2 separate regions of the Homo sapiens genome follow, and region 1 is linked to region 2. Evidence: promoter capture Hi-C in 16 types of primary human blood cells and fetal thymus (Javierre and others, 2016). All regions are on one chromosome and are shown on one strand. Each heading gives the region's core, a stretch centred on a gene start or on the middle of the fragment in contact. The rest is flanking DNA. Distances are from core to core; before and after follow the strand shown.

Region 1 (5,134 bases), core at 274-2,773, about 29 Mb before region 2:
GTTCTAAAGTGAGACAACACTCTTTACCTAGTCTCCTCAGCCACTTTTACAGTTGGCCCTAATCCCCATAACAGTCCTGGAAACTTATTTTTACTGTTAAGGAAACTGAGATTTAGAGGGGAGGTGACTGAGCCACAACCCACACCCCAGAGGGCTGTTCCAAAGCCCTCCTCGAAATTGGTGCCAAGGGCAGCAGCTATAATGACAGCCAGTCCACATAGAAGTGCCTCCGTTGATCACCAATTAACAGTAAAATCTGATAATATCTCATTCCAAGGTTGTTATAAGCACTAAATGTGGTTTTGTGACATAATAGGCGTTTGTTTCTCCCCACTGCTTCCCACCACAATATATTCATCAAGACCTTTCCAAGGATACTAAGTCTAGGAAACCCAGGATCATGAAGAGAGGGCATGTTCTTCCAAGTGAGGCTGAGGAGAGACTTGTCTGGCGAGGCCTGTACTGACTAGTGACATTAAAAGAGGCGATCTGACTTCTCATACTGCTCTTGTCCCAGGCCTGCTGTTTGTCAACTGCTGGGTCCTCAGAGCCAAAACTGTTTTCCAACAGTTTTGAATTGAATAACAGCCAGCTATTCGATTTTCTCCGCATTCTCTAATCGGTATACTCTTCAGAGTCCACAGGATTTGCAACGATATTATCCAACGGCTGAAGAATGTGCGCTTGACATCTTAGGCTGTAAAATGTCTCAATTTCAATTTCTAATACATAGATGTCAGTGGATGGCATTTTCTGAACCCTTTGTCGATGTCCATAAACGGCATGCTCTGAATTCAACTAAACAAAAGTATAGACATGGGGGAGGTGTAGGGCGATGTCCAAAGTATAATTTTTAAGAGTGTAAAGGGTTCCTAAGTAAGATTGCCAGATTTTTTTTTTTTTTTTGAGACGGAGTCTCACTCTATCCCCCAGGCTGGAGTGCAATGGCGCGATCTTGGCTCACTGCAGCCTCCACCTCCCGCGCTCAAGAGATTCTTCTGCCGCAGCCTCCAGGGTAGCTGGGATTACCCCAGAGCCCGCCACTGAGCCCGGCTAATTTTTGTATATTTATTAGAGAAGGGGTTTCACCACGTTGGCCAGGCTGATCTCGAACTCCTGAGCTCAAGTAATCCGCCGGCCTTGGTCTCCCAAAGTGCTGGGATTGCAGGCGTGAGCCACCACGCCAGACCTGGATTGCCAGATTTAGCACATAAAAATACAGGACCCCCAGTTAAACGCCTCTCGGATAAACCATTATTGCATGGGATACACTCACGCTAAAAAAATTGTTCGTCGTTTACCTGAAAGTCACATTTAATTGGGCGTCCTGTATTTTACCCGGCAAATTCTAGGCCTGAGACCAAAAAGTTTGAGAACCCTGCCCCTAGGCGACAGCAAGCGGAACTGCAGCAAGCTCCCAGTAATTCCGGGTGCTGCACTTCCGGTCAGGCGGTCGGGCTGCGGGGCCCTGGGGCCAGCTCACCGCCGGAAGTCTCCGCGTCCCCCCCACCCCGGCCAGATCCCTTTCCCAGTCCTGCTTCCCAGTGCCTCGGGCCAGGGAATCCTGGCCTCCGCCTGCGGAGCCGGCGGAACCCGCTTCCCGCCTCCACGGGGCAGCGCCAGCGGCCTGGTCCTTTCACCGGCAGCTCCGTGCCGACGCTCTCACCGCTCTTCCTATCGCCGGGAGTGGCGGGCCGACCAGGGGGCGGCCGGGCTACCGTCCGCCATTCCCGTGTCTCTGCGCCCGCGGGGGCCGCCCGAGCCGGCCACCATGCCGCTGGGCCTGAAGCCCACCTGCAGCGTATGCAAGACCACGTCGTCCTCCATGTGGAAGAAGGGAGCGCAGGGGGAGATCCTCTGCCATCATTGCACTGGCCGGGGCGGCGCGGGCAGCGGGGGCGCAGGCTCGGGGGCGGCTGGAGGGACTGGGGGCAGCGGCGGCGGCGGCTTCGGCGCGGCGACCTTCGCCAGCACCTCCGCCACCCCTCCGCAGAGCAACGGGGGCGGGGGCGGCAAGCAGGTGAGCTCCTCCGGCCCCTCCCGCCGGCGGAGGCCGACCAGGTGCTAGGCGGGCGGGGACGGGCTGGCTGGGAGCGGGCGGGCGCGGGCTTCCCCGATCGCCGTGCTCCTGCTGGCTGGAACGCCCCTCCCCACCTCCTACTGAGATCTTTCGTTTGGCCCATTCCGAAGCACCTGTTATTGTAAGAAATTCAAAGCAATAAGAACCAAGATGTAAAGCCCTTAAGAAAATCTCAATATACACATGTCTACACAGTCGTATACAGTGTCATGCCACAAATGCAGGCGCTGGACCTCATTCCTTGTTAAAGGTTTTGTCATATCAGGTTATGAAGTAAGATTATTATGTCATTATTGTAAATGGCAGCTTAAGTATTCCGTTGCAGGGGGCGCCATAACCTACTACGTTCTCTGGCCTTAGGGAGTAAAGTTGTTAAGTGTTTTTCTCTATTGTAGACACAACAAATGAATAGTGTTTGTCTTGGTCAAGACTGACTCCTACTCCCGCCTCCTGCCCTATTACAAGCAGCTCACACCTTTTGGAGGCTCTGGAGACGCCTGTCCAGCGAGCTCCGAGATTCCGGGTGCTGAACTTCCGGTTTTACTTAGCCTAGTTGCTGTAATTACTTCTCTTGAAAAGCAAAAGGGCAATCTTAATTGTTAAATGCTCTTATAAAGTACATACTCTGGGATCCTTGTAAGATGATTGTACTGCAACCTTTATGCACTTTTTACTTCTTTCTCTTTTTGTTCTTTAATTTGTTTGTGTAACAGAGTAAGCAGGAAATTCACAGGAGGTCTGCTCGGCTCAGAAACACTAAATACAAATCTGCTCCGGCTGCTGAAAAGAAAGTCTCCACCAAAGGAAAAGGGAGAAGACATATATTTAAATTGAAAAATGTAAGATATTTGTGGACAGTGCCTTTTACTGTAATGACGTTGTGTGTATCCTGCCACTGCCTTCATTTCTCACCATTGAACTTGGACTCTGCCCTTGGTAGCCCTTCCTTAGTATTCTGGGGAATGGTCCAGATTCCCCAAAAGGGAATGAGCTCTGTTGCAGGAGGCTCACTGTTTATAAAGTTAATAATACTCTTTCCTTTTTGTTTTTTAGCTTTTATTTTTTCCCCTGGAAAATATAAAATATGGGTTTAAAAGAAACATCAACCTTGAGCCCATTTTTTGGGGTTCTCTATGGAAAGGAAGAGGAGAGATTATGGTTCTTGATATGGCCAGGTACACTAAGAAAACTTTTTTTTTTCATTCTTTAAAAATCTAAGTAAATATTAACACTAGAACTCATCATTTGCATATTTATTTGTTATTAAAGCCCCAGAAAATGTATCTTACTGACTTATGATGATGATGTATTTGATGAATATGAGTCAAAAATTTTGCTAAGCCTTATCTCCTCTTCTGCTCTAAGAAAAGAGATTGTTGAAAGACCTGTGCTGGAAGTAGTTGAAAGCATATTTTTATTGCAATTAAATTCTCAGTTTTTATAAACAAGGGATAATGTTCAAACACAGTGGACAGTGCATTATGGACTATTTTTTTAAGTCTCAGTATGATATTCTTTTCTTTCAGAACAGGAATGTTTCACTTACCCGTAAAGACGTTTCTGAAGTTGGCCATATTTATTTCTAAAACACAAAGGGACCCTGCAGTAGACTTATGCAGATGGCAGACTATTTTCTTTTTTTTTTTTTAATTTAATTTAATGAATTTTTTTTAATTTTACTTTAAGTTCTGGGATACATGTGCAGAATGTGCAGGTTTGTTACATAGGTATACGTGCCATGGTGGTTTGCTGCACCTATCAACCCATCATCTAGGTTTTAAGCCCCGCATGCATTAGATATTTGTCCTAATGCTCTCCCTCCCCTTGGCCCCCATCTCCGACAGGCCCCAGTGTGTGATGTTCCCTTCCCCAAAGTATTTTCTTATTCAGACTAGTTGCTTCTAATTTATTTAAGATTTTTATAGTTAAGTGAGGCATTTGTTGATTACACAAAACATGTTATTGATATTTGTATCACATATGCACATTTTTTTCCTTTTAAGTATGGTATACCGTGTTCTCAGCAATTATTTCATTATCGTTTCTCTGCAACCTTTCTTCAATGGTACTAAGCAAGACACATCTGGGGAGGCCTACTTTCTATGTTGTGGCATAAAAGTATGTATTGAAGCTTTAGTAGAGATCTCAAAAATGGTTGGATGGTAGCAAATTACTAAGAACTCTCAAAGTTTCTAAAGCCTTAGTTTCAGCTTGCTAGAAAACCTATGTTGAGTATTATGGCTAGTTCCATAGTTGAGTTGGGAAATGTCTTTGAGGAGACACTTTTTCACTTTGTATTCATCTGTACATTTTCTGTTACTTGCATTCTGTCATGCTCAGGCTATTAGAGCAGGTACATTTTTATAACTGGAATGTTTATGTGTAGTGAAGCTCTGAGAGGACTTTGCATTAGATCTCAGCAGCATAATCAGAAGGTTGTCCTTTGTCTCAGCAATTTTTAAGCTAATAGTAGCAGAAATTGCAGTGGAAATAGACTGCTTTGCCACAACATTCAGAAAATCATTTATCTTTTTATTGCAGTTCTTGTCACCAAACAATACATTTTAGTACTTCTCAAATTGCAGAACTCTCATAGGGCTGGGAAAATGCCTGTAGACACATACATACTATGAATGTGCTAATGTTTTTTGTATTTTCATAGCCCATCAAAGCTCCTGAGTCAGTTTCCACTATAATCACTGCAGAATCAATCTTCTACAAGGTAAGCTTTTGTAGAGTTACTGAAGGAAGAGTTGGGCCTAGTGGGTAATGTGCCACTAAAATGTTGGATTAGTCTAAAGGTCTCTGCTACTCTTTATTTGTATAAGGTGTGATTATACTTTTTGTTCCCTTCTTAGCTGTTTTCCCCCATAAGTGGCTGTTATTAAAACATCTCATCTAGAGCTGAAGTGGGAGGAGAAAGTGCCTACTGACACATGATGTGAGGATCTTAAGTATTTTTTTTTAGTGTAGATTGTAGGAATTATTCTTAAAATGCTGATTGTATAGTGTGGAGCCATGGAAGACTGAGCCGTTAGTGCGATGGCATTGAAG
Region 2 (5,191 bases), core at 2,643-5,142:
ACCTTAAGACTTCAAGCAAGGGTTCCTCGAGAAACATGCTATGTGAGGGATTTAAATTTCCCCTTGTCTTAGACTCTGGTAAACAGTCATATTCTGTATCTACTTTTCAATCTTATCCCTAAATTTTAATTCCTTCTATTTTTATTTACCTAGTAGCCTTAACTGCAGTAGTCTTTTTTTTTTTTTTTTAAGACAAGAGTCTGGCTTTGTTGTCCAGGCTGTAGCGCAGTGGTGCGATCTCGGCTCACTGCAAGCTCCGCCCTCCCAGGTTCACGCCATTCTCCTGCCTCAGCCTCCAGAGTAGCTGGGACTATAGGTACCCACCACCATGCCCAGATAATTTTTTGTACTTTTAGTAGAGACGGGGTTTCACCGTGTTAGCCAGGATGGTCTCGATCTCCTGACCTTGTGATCTGCCCGCCTTGGCCTCCCAAAGTGCCAGGATTACAGGCATGAGCCACTGTGCCCAGCCGACTGCAGTAGTCTTACACAGCCTTCCTGGCTTGATTTCTCCCTTGAATTTAGTATGACAGTGGCAGAATCACACCTGTAGGTGAGATAATACTAGAGTTCTGGTGATGTCCAGCCTTAAGAGAAGCAGGGGCACAAGGTGGAACTAACAGCAGCAAAAAGGAATATCTGCAATAAGAGTAACTTAGGAGGACACATGTGATATTAATAATCATGGTAATAGCAGCTGACATTTATTGAATCATAACATTCATATGGCATTAATATAAGTGTTTTGCATAGAAAATACTTCAACCCACACTCCTATGATTCTGCTACTGTTTCTATTTCCCATTGACAGATCAGGAAACAAAGGCACAGAGTGTTAAAATTACTTTCTCAAGTTTATACAACTAGCGTTAGAGAAACTGACAAAGAAAGAGGGGAAAGGCAAGGGAAAAAGTAGAGCTTCTCTGGGGGCTCTCACCAGCAGGAGTTTGTGGGCCATGTATTTACTGTCCTGTACTTCTGTAAGGTTGCCAGTCTCTGTGTCTTTTCATTCCCAATTTCAAATCATAAGAAAATGCATCTGATAGGTCCAGCTTTGGTGAATCCCTGATAAATTAATGAGTTTTGATACAGACATGGTCAATCCATATGAGGGGCACTCCCTGGAAATGCAGTATTGGTTTTAAGTAGGCAGCCACTCAAAAATGGTATCTACTGTATGACCTAATTATGTAAGAAGTTATCACAAGCCTATGCAAACATAATTGTTGCAGCTCAGCTGATACATGTTCCAACAATAAGAGTTACATTATTTAACTAAAATATACAGTGTGTAAGTTTTATTTTTGGTTTCTGTGGAGTGTGTATTTATACTGACTGAATTGGGAATGATTTATTATCTCATTTCCCTTAATATGGAACACTCCCTGAGGAAGCTCAGTTTACACTGAAATGATGTACTTCTATTCATGATAGCATACCATTTTAGCTACTCTGAAAGAGCCACCTGGCAAAAACAACTAAAAGTGCTAGATTTAAAAAAATACACTGATGAACTAGTAGGAAATTAAGGAATTTTCAGAACGAATATAAAAGGGGAAAAAGAAGGAAAATGAAAATATCCTGAGAAATAAGTGCAAGCCAAAGTAGGCTTTTGTTCAGAGACTATCTGTCAAGTTCTGGACACCTAGAGCTCTTACTTTAATAGCTGTGCAGCATGCCAGGGTCAGAAGATAAACCCAAGTATCAGTTTAAAAGGAAGAGTCTTACAGCAGACAAAAATCTGGGGCCCCAATGGACTATACTCTCCATGTAAGGGTAAATGACATATAAGCCTCATGCACAGAATAGGCCAGTAATGAAACATGTCTGTCTTGGCCTTGGAGCCCAGTAAAGAAAGAAAAAAAAATTCTCCTCTGAGAATCTGTAACAATCCATTTGGGATAGAGGCCCAAATTCAATCTATCTGTGCAATACAATAAACCTCAAGGGGACAATTTAATCTGGTCCTAGGGGTTTATGATGTCTCCAAACAAACTGACAAGCAAATTCTAATGCTCTCCATGAAAACTCAATTTCAACTCCAGCTCAAAGAATCCTTATGCTTGTAATCCCAGAAACAGGAATTCAGAGTCCAAAATCGCAACCCAACAGGAAAAAGCCACCATGAGTAAAAGTGCCCATTTCTGAAGAAATAGCACTAAAAGGCCCATAAATGTTTCAATATTAGGTTTAACAGAAACAAGATACAGACTAAATAATTTGTATAAGAAATTATAAGATGTCTTGAAAAGAGAACCGAATAGAACTTCCAAACCTGAAAAATTATGAAAATTCTAAAATAAAACATATAAAAGAAAGATTAAGATAAATAAGAGAATAAAGAGAGAAAGTCTTAATGGAAAAAATGAGAAATAAGCAATACTGAAAAGACAAACGCTGAGAATTTTCTAGAATTGTTGCAGGGCACCAATCCTGAAATTCAGGAATCCCCTCAAATCCTAAGCATAATTTTAAAATTTTAAGGAAAGAAAAGGGAATAAGGAAGGAATTCAGACTTAGATCACTACAAAACTGCAAAAAGATGTCAAAGAGATGTTAAAAGCAGCCAGAAGAAGGAAGGATGGGAAACGAAGAAAGGAGGAAAAAAAGAAGGGAGAAAAAGATCGAAAGTACTTGATTTTCGATGGAAGTAATGAAAAACTTAACTAGAAACTATAAAATTCTAATTCTTATTAGGATCGAAGTAAGGTTCCGTTGAGATTCATCATGATTCATCATTCACGACAGGAAAGTTTCCTGCTTAAGAGCAGTGAAAACCTTGAGTACAAGAGTATGTAATGGAGAAGGAAAGCAAGAAACACACACACACAGTTTCAACTGCAATTTGAAAAACAGAAAATGAACAATAAATTATGAACTAATGACAATTTCCCCAGAAAATCGAAAAGTTAAGAAGAGTGGAAAATAACAATATCTAGCATTTATTGAGTGCAAGAGTTTTTAATAAAAAACAATTTAAAAAGAAACTGAGTAGGGACGTACTAAATATATCACAGGAAAACATTTGCTGGGAGAGGTCGAAAAGTAGAAACTAAAGAACGCCGAAGACAACCAACCTCGAATATGGACTATTTACTCAACATAAAGTTACTGCTATTAACAGCCTATTAGAAATCAAGGCTGCATCCGTAATTCATGGCTGCTCACTGTGATGATGAAGATTATTATTATTATTATTTGCGGATGCAGATTGTATGTATAGATCAATTACATTAGAATGACGATTAGATGGACCGCAAACTAGAATATATAAGTGGCTACTGACACTATTTGTGCATCTTTTAATCTGGGAAATGTATATTCACTCCATAGTCTCAGTATAAACTATTTTAAAATTACACGTAAGCCAACCAGGTGTCTCTTTTATATTTTAGAGTGAATAATGAGGATAAATTCCAGTAGAGAGTTCTATTTTAAGCAATCCAAATTCCCCGAACTTTGCTGATTATTCTAGTGTTTAGAACCTTTGCTATTTGCCTGGCACTTCTTGAAACCCATAACTCACAAACGCCGGGGCATGGAATCACATCAAAGAACAGGTGAAAAGTTGTTCCTAGTTGTGTTATGCAGGTGCATACAACTCCCGCCATTCTCTGTGCAAAAATCAACAAATAAACAGAGGCACCGCATTTCGGATTCTGTTACGCACTGTTTGCAATGGCGCCCGGTATTCGTAGTTTCTGCGAGGGGAGCCGCCAGCGCGCCAACCCTCGCTGAGGAGGAAGAAAACTACATTTCCCACAGAGGCACGGGGGCGAACACCGGCCGGGCTACGTCATTGCTTGAACCAACCAATAGCAGCTCCGGGCGGCAGTGAGGCAAGCGCCTCAGGCGCCAAAGTGGTTTTTTTTTTTTTCTTTTTTTTTTTTTGCCGGAGTCGAGCGGGTGCTGCTAGCGGAGGCGCCATATTGGAGGGGACAAAACTCCGGCGACAGCGAGTGACACAAATAAACCCCTGGACCCCCTTGTTCCCTCAGCTCTAAGGGCCGCGATGTTGTACCTAGAAGACTATCTGGAAAGTGAGTGCGCGGCGCTGGCGGCGGCCGCCAGTGGGACGTGCGGGCGGGCAAGAGCGCGAGTGGACGGGCAGCGAGATGGCGGGAGGGAGGGGGCGGCGGGGGATGTTTCTTTCTCACGGTAACTGGCAGCCTCGTTGTGGGCTGCCGGCCCCCTCGACCCCCCTGACGCACGCGCGCAGTGACGTAAGCGCGTATTTCGCCGTTGGCCCCGCCCCTCTGACGGACTCTCCCTTTGACAGTGATTGAGCAGCTTCCTATGGATCTGCGGGACCGCTTCACGGAAATGCGCGAGATGGACCTGCAGGTGCAGAGTAAGTCGGCGCGTCTACTACTCCTGTTCGCTGCGCGCGTTCAGTGCCAGACTTGCTTGTCATCACTGCTAGCGCCTAGTGCTCTTTCACTGTCCTCTGGCTCACTCCGCTAGTGCATAAGGAGTTGTCAAAAAGAACTGGCAGCCCTGAATCTCGCCTTCCCCTTCCCTCCCATGCTACTTTTTTCTGGCTTTTGCAAGAGCAGGAGGCATTGGGACACGTGTATTCCTTTCTAGAATGTGGGATTGTGCAAAAAATATTTCTCTACCGTCATTGACATAGTTATCTATGTTTCAATGGACGTCAGCATAATAAATGTTGAGATGTCGTCTTGAGCCTTTTCGTATCGAACTTAGATTTCAGCATTTATACTTATTTTAAAGTTCATCCTATTCACAGTTTTTCAAGAGTGGAAAGCACAGAAGCAGAGGTTATATATAGCTCTTTAGAGACCATGGCAAATGTCAAATTTTGAAAACTTAGTTACACATTAGATACATTTTAAATTGTAACAGAATCGTCATTTTCTTGGTTAAAATGAGTGACAGAAATTAGATTTCACTGTAAAGTTTCTTATGTGCTGTACTAAAAATTTTAGCAGTTAATGAACATTTCTTTTTCTTTCAGTGATAGCTTGGTAGTCTCTAGGACTTTTTCCCCAAATTAACTTTGCTCTTTCATAGAGCAACGACTATAAATAGGTGGCTCAGGGACCACCTGCTGCAGCTAAGAACCTGTCCTTTTCACTGCTCCTGGCTTCTCTGCCCATGACCACACACCCACTTCTATACCCTTTGCTTATGAGTATATTTTTCCGGTAAGTTTCAGGTGGCACATAAT

What was found. The method cuts DNA at HindIII sites, captures the fragments that hold promoters and counts their contacts. A CHiCAGO score of 5 or more calls a contact.
Region 1: a contact is called between the fragment with the promoter of GATAD1 here and the fragment with the promoter of ING3 in region 2, in 3 of 17 cell types (total B cells, non-activated CD4 T cells and naive CD8 T cells). The highest score is 6.6, in total B cells.

Annotation. Positions count from the first base shown.
Region 1 is chr7:92,445,959-92,451,092 of GRCh38, forward strand. GATAD1 (GATA zinc finger domain containing 1) reads left to right here and starts at 1,524. Exons shown (of 5, transcript NM_021167.5): 1 at 1,524-2,020; 2 at 2,794-2,919; 3 at 4,743-4,802. The coding sequence starts at 1,772. RefSeq lists a silencer at 1,444-2,213 and an enhancer at 2,644-2,693. The HindIII fragment of the contact is 4,596 bases long and covers 1-4,209 here.
Region 2 is chr7:120,946,885-120,952,075 of GRCh38, forward strand. ING3 (inhibitor of growth family member 3) reads left to right here and starts at 3,893. Exons shown (of 12, transcript NM_019071.3): 1 at 3,893-4,040; 2 at 4,280-4,351. The coding sequence starts at 4,013. RefSeq lists an enhancer at 4,436-4,515. The HindIII fragment of the contact is 9,487 bases long and covers 1-5,191 here.